2 separate regions of the Homo sapiens genome follow, and region 1 is linked to region 2. The links are contacts of gene promoters, found by promoter capture Hi-C in human tissues and cell types (Jung and others, 2019). All regions are on one chromosome and are shown on one strand. The core of a region is centred on a gene start or on the middle of the fragment in contact, and the rest is flanking DNA. Distances in the headings are between cores, read along the strand shown. Region 1 has its middle 16 kb from the start of OR2T11. Region 2 holds the start of OR2M7 (olfactory receptor family 2 subfamily M member 7).

What was found. Contacts are between HindIII fragments. The study calls those that stand out against the background at their distance.
Region 1: a contact is called between a fragment that was not itself captured here and the fragment with the promoter of OR2M7 in region 2, in 3 of the 25 tissues and cell types used here (mesendoderm cells, neural progenitor cells and thymus).

The regions. Positions count from the first base shown.
Region 1 is chr1:248,618,239-248,620,938 of GRCh38, reverse strand. No RefSeq gene overlaps it. Among named protein-coding and RNA genes, the nearest start is that of OR2T11, 16 kb to the left of the region's middle. The HindIII fragment of the contact is 7,017 bases long and covers 1-2,700 here.
Region 2 is chr1:248,323,296-248,326,134 of GRCh38, reverse strand. It overlaps OR2M7 (olfactory receptor family 2 subfamily M member 7), which reads left to right and starts at 1,567. Exons shown (of 1, transcript NM_001004691.1): 1 at 1,567-2,505. The coding sequence starts at 1,567. The coding sequence ends at 2,505. The HindIII fragment of the contact is 10,500 bases long and covers 1-2,839 here.

The DNA.
Region 1 (2,700 bases), core at 108-2,607, 300 kb before region 2:
TGAGGTGGCCGGACAACTTGGTGTTACGCATTTTAGGGAGACATAAGACATCAGTCAACATGTATAAGATGTACAGTGGTTTGACCTGGAAACACACAACAATTGGAAGCAGGAGTTTCTAAGTCAGAGGCAGATTCAAAGATTTTCTGATTGGCAATTAGCTGAAAGAGTTGTTTATCAGTAGAAAGAAATGTCTGGTTATGGTAAGGGTTTGTGGAGACCAAGACTTGATCTTGTAGATGAGGCCTCCAACAAGCAGGCTTCAGAGAGAAGATTGTAAATGTTTTTTAATTAGACTTAAGTCTTAAAGAATCTGTTCTATCAGTAATTCCAAAAGGGAGGGAGGGTATCCTGAGGCATGTCAAGCTCTTCCTTCCTATCATGGCCTGAACTAGTTTATCAGGTTAACTTTGGAATGCCTTTGCTGAGACGAGGGCCCTATTCAGATGGTTGAGGGAGGCTTAGAATTTTACTTTTGGTTTAAAACCCTTTAGTATTTAGCCGGAATTTTAGGAAGGGGACCCTGATTTTTGTAGTGAGAAGAACCCATATTAGTGCCCATGGACATAAACATACACAAACAACAAATAAGCAATTCAAGATCTGATAAAAAGATAATGACATTGAAAGATGCTTCTGAACCCTATGTCTGAGGCCACCAAACAATCCAAGCAAAATCATTCTTGTGACCTGGTTACAAAGATGTGCATTTCAAATACCAGTAAAGAGAAAAGACACAAAAATGGGAAGATTAAAAGAATTTTTAAAAAGAAAACAGATTCCTTATTAGCCTTTCCATCAGAATGAGCTTATTTCCAGAGTCCCAGCCATTAATGAAGAGCCTAGAGTAGTTATGAACAAAATTTGACTTCACCTCTCAAAACCTGACTTGGTGAACAAGGTCCCAAAACTAGCTGCCATCAGTGATATGCAGAAGAGCAAGTGCAGAGGGCAAGCTGGGCTACAAGAGGACTCTAAGGGGCACAAGCAGGTTGTGTGGTTCAGTCTCCTGTGAGCATGCTCTGAGAGGCAGATAGGTCTAAAGAGCAGAGATGGAAGATTGACACTGATAGAATACCATGTCAGAAGTCAGAGTCACAATCACTTTGGTGACTGAGTGGGGACAGGACAGGTTTTGAGGGTTGGTAATCATTCTTGACCAGCTGGGTCAAGAAAGAGATTGAGCTCCTGGTCTCTAGCAATCCTCCCACCTCAGCCTCCCCAGTAGCTAGGAGATATATGTATTTGTATATACATATATATGGGTGTGTGTGTATATATACATATATATGTATACATGAAAGAAAACTGACTAATCTCTATATATATGTGTATGTGTGTGTGTATATATATATATGTATATAGAATCTCCTTCTGATAAATATCCTGTTGAAACTGTGACTCCCTCAGGAATTCTCGGTGCCGTCTTCACAGCCCTCCCTCTTCTGCAGCCCCTGCTCTGCCGCTTCCATCCAGGCTGCTTGCCCCAGAGATGGGCTGCGCTGCACGGGGCTCCTCCTGAGATGCTGCCTCTTCCCCATGACCCTCTGGATTCTTGATTGTCTGTGTACCACGTCTTCTACTTTAAAACCTCCCCATTGTGGAGCATGTCTTTCAACAGGTTTATAAACAAAGTACGTGGGAGGAAATTTTTTAAAGGCCTTGCATGTTTGAAAATGACTTTTTTTATCCTCCCACTTTGACAGTAGATCTGGCCAGGTGTCAATGTGTAGGTTGAAAAAAGCTTTCCCTCATGAATATGAGGATGTCCCTCCTCCATTGTCTTCTAACATTCAGTATTTCTCCTGGGAGTTCCATGCTCTCAATTTTAGTTGTGTTGTCGTCCCCTGGAGGCTTCAGGCTCTCCTTTGGCAGTCGTGTTAAACATTCATAATGTCTTCATAAGGGCTCTTTTTAACAATTATGTTGGGCAATTGATGAACCTTTTAATCTTGAAACGTGTCTTTCAATTCCAGAATTTTTGCTCTGAAACATGACTGAAATATGTGCTTTCCTTCCATCTAAAACATTCTTTTCCTCTGGAATTTTTATTACTTGATTTGCCTCCTGACTCACAAACTGGATCTCTTCTTCTACCTTCTTTTGCATCTGTCTTGTCCTACTTTACAGTCTACACTGCCATAATCTAAATGTTCAAGAACTCTTAAAAATTTCTCCAATGCTCTGTTTAAAACACCCTGTTCTAGTTTAATATCTGTTTGTATGTTCTTATCTGTCATAGCAGATTAGTCAGTTATCTTTTATAGAAAGAGTTTCTCTAATTACTGCATACTGTATTTCTTCTTATTTTCACTGATTTGTGTGATTTCTGCCTTTTATTTTAGAAGCTTTCCTCAAGTTTTGTAATCCCTGTCTCTCTCCTAATGTTAGTCTCTGGATAAGGACAAGCCTTAACGAGTAGGAGTCACTAAACTATGATGTAAATGACTTATTTTGGAAACCTCAAATGTCAGTATTCCTAGGTATTTTCTTTGGTATGGTCTGCTTCCTCTGCAAATCTTTCTGGGGGCTGCCAGCATTCTGAGAACCCACGTTGGGGAAACGTGCTGGTGTGCTTCACAATGTAGGGTGCAGACTTCCCACTTACACCCACGCAATGTCTGTTTTCCAATCCCAGAGCCCTTTGGGTACACCACCACCTCCCAAGTTAGTGTCGCGTCAGGTCGGGGAGGAAGGGTT
Region 2 (2,839 bases), core at 318-2,817:
CACAATAAAAACTTAATGCCACAACATACAAGAAACATAACTCTAAATTAGAAAACCCTATGTTTTCCCAAAATCTTCCACACATTTCTATTTTCTCTGTGTATGTTCTATTTATTGCATTTCATTTTGTGGAATTTATATACGTACAACCCTTTCCTGTGATCTGGTGTCTTTCTCACTTGCTCAGAGTCTTTGCCAAAAGCCATTAGATGTGTGAGGTTTCCCTTGACTACTTTATTCAAAGGTGAACATACTAGTGCATTTCTAACACCCTTCTTTGACTTACTTTTCTCCAAAATGTTTATCCTCTTATGACATAAAGTGTTTTATAATCATCATCTGATCACACTCACTATGACCTGTATGGACACGGGCTTTCTTTATTCTGGTCACTGTGGTAGCCCCAGTGATCAACACATAGCCAGGCTTCATAAATGTTGTTGAAAGGATGAATCTCATGCTTTTCTTAATTTCTGTTTTTATATCTACTTATTTTCTATAGGATATATTGGATGTATTAATTTCCTACGAATGCCAGTACAGAGAAATCACAAACAGGTTACCTAAAACAATAGAAATTTATTCTCTCATAGTTTTGGAGTCTAGAAATCTGAAATCAAGTTGTCAGCAGGGTTGGACACTTCTGAGGGCTCTAAGAGGATGAATCTGTCCCATTCCTCTCTCCCAGGTTCCTGTTATAACTAACAGTTTTTGGCATTTCTTGATTTGTAGATGCACCACTCCAATCCCTGCCTCCCCTATCACATGGTATCCTCAGTGTCTCAGTCTTCACATGGCCACCCACTTATCAGAACATGAGTCATATTGAATTAGAGAGACCCACTCTGCTCCAACTTGACCTCACCTTAACTAATTATACCCTTTATGTATTTCTAAACAAGCTCACTTGCTATCTTTTGGGGAAGAAACATAATTCAATGCATCACACTGGGCTATAGAAAAAAGAGCATATGTCTTAGATTTGTATAATTGAAAATCTTTTCAGTGAATCCACTTACTGTATAGAAAACTTACTATAAAGTATAGATAAAATACTTTAAACTGTAAAGTAATAGGTAAACATACACATTTTCTTAACTCTGGTAGGAAAAATGCCTACTATCATGTGAATAAAGGCACAAATTTATTGTCCATTTCTAGTATTGTGTTGGTCACATGGTGACTGAACCTGAATTTCTCTATCAATTTACCTGTAACAGGCTTCTGATGTTTTAGGAACTGTTTGCTTTGGAGACATATTCTTTTTGGAAAAACTCCATTGATCATGTAGTAGATATTGTTATTGTAATTTTTCAATGGAGAAAAAGAATGCTTAGAAGAAAAGTTAGGACAAGCTCCATAATTTTATAAGTGAGACACTGCTGAGAGAACATATTTCTTTATGATTCCATAATTCTTAAACTTTGAGTTTTATAATTCTGGCCATCCTGTATTGATCACCAAACTACAGAATTTACCATAATCACATGCTTTATAAGGCACTGGGTAAATGTTTATCAAATTAATGAACTGTTTTTGCGGTGCTAGGTAACAGGCATATTCATCATGGCATGGGAGAATCAGACCTTCAACTCTGACTTCCTCCTCCTGGGAATCTTCAATCATAGCCCCACCCACACCTTCCTCTTCTTTCTGGTCCTGGCCATCTTTTCAGTGGCCTTCATGGGAAACTCCATCATGGTTCTCCTCATCTACCTGGATACCCAGCTCCACACCCCCATGTACTTCCTCCTCAGCCAACTGTCCCTCATGGACCTCATGCTCATCTGCACCACTGTACCCAAGATGGCCTTCAACTACTTGTCTGGCAGCAAGTCCATTTCTATGGCTGGCTGTGCCACACAAATTTTCTTCTATATATCATTGCTTGGCTCCGAATGCTTTCTGTTGGCTGTTATGTCTTATGACCGCTACACTGCCATTTGCCACCCTCTAAGATACACCAATCTCATGAGACCCAAAATTTGTGGACTTATGACTGCCTTCTCCTGGATCCTGGGCTCTACAGATGGAATCATTGATGCTGTAGCGACATTTTCCTTCTCCTACTGTGGGTCTCGGGAAATAGCCCACTTCTGCTGTGACTTCCCTTCCCTACTAATCCTCTCATGCAATGACACATCAATATTTGAAGAGGTTATTTTCATCTGCTGTATAGTAATGCTTGTTTTCCCTGTTGCAATCATCATCACTTCCTATGCTCGAGTTATTCTGGCTGTCATTCACATGGGATCTGGAGAGGGACGTCGCAAAGCTTTTACTACTTGTTCCTCTCACCTCATGGTGGTGGGAATGTACTATGGAGCAGGTTTGTTCATGTGCATTCAGCCCACATCTCATCATTCTCCTATGCAGGACAAGATGGTGTCTGTATTCTACACCATCGTCACTCCCATGCTGAATCCTCTCATTTATAGCCTCCGCAACAAGGAAGTGACCAGAGCATTAATGAAAATCTTAGGAAAGGGCAAGTCTGGAGATTGAGTTACCTCATAAATTTCATGTTTTGCTGTCTGCTAACGTCTTCTTTTTATTGTCTCTCTTTTTCTATTAAGTCCTAAAAATATCACTAATTGTGTGCATTGCTCAACATATTGATGGGTACCAGTATAATTTATTTCAGATAAACTATTTTAGATTTTTTAATATTCAATTCAGTTATGACTACAATATAAGGCATTTTCAATAAAGACATTCCATTTTTATTTTTAAATTTCATTATCATTTTGGGAAACACATAGTGTTTGGTTACATTAATAAGTTCTTTAATGGTGATTTCTGAGATTTTAGTGCAGCGATCAACCAAGCAGTGTTCGCT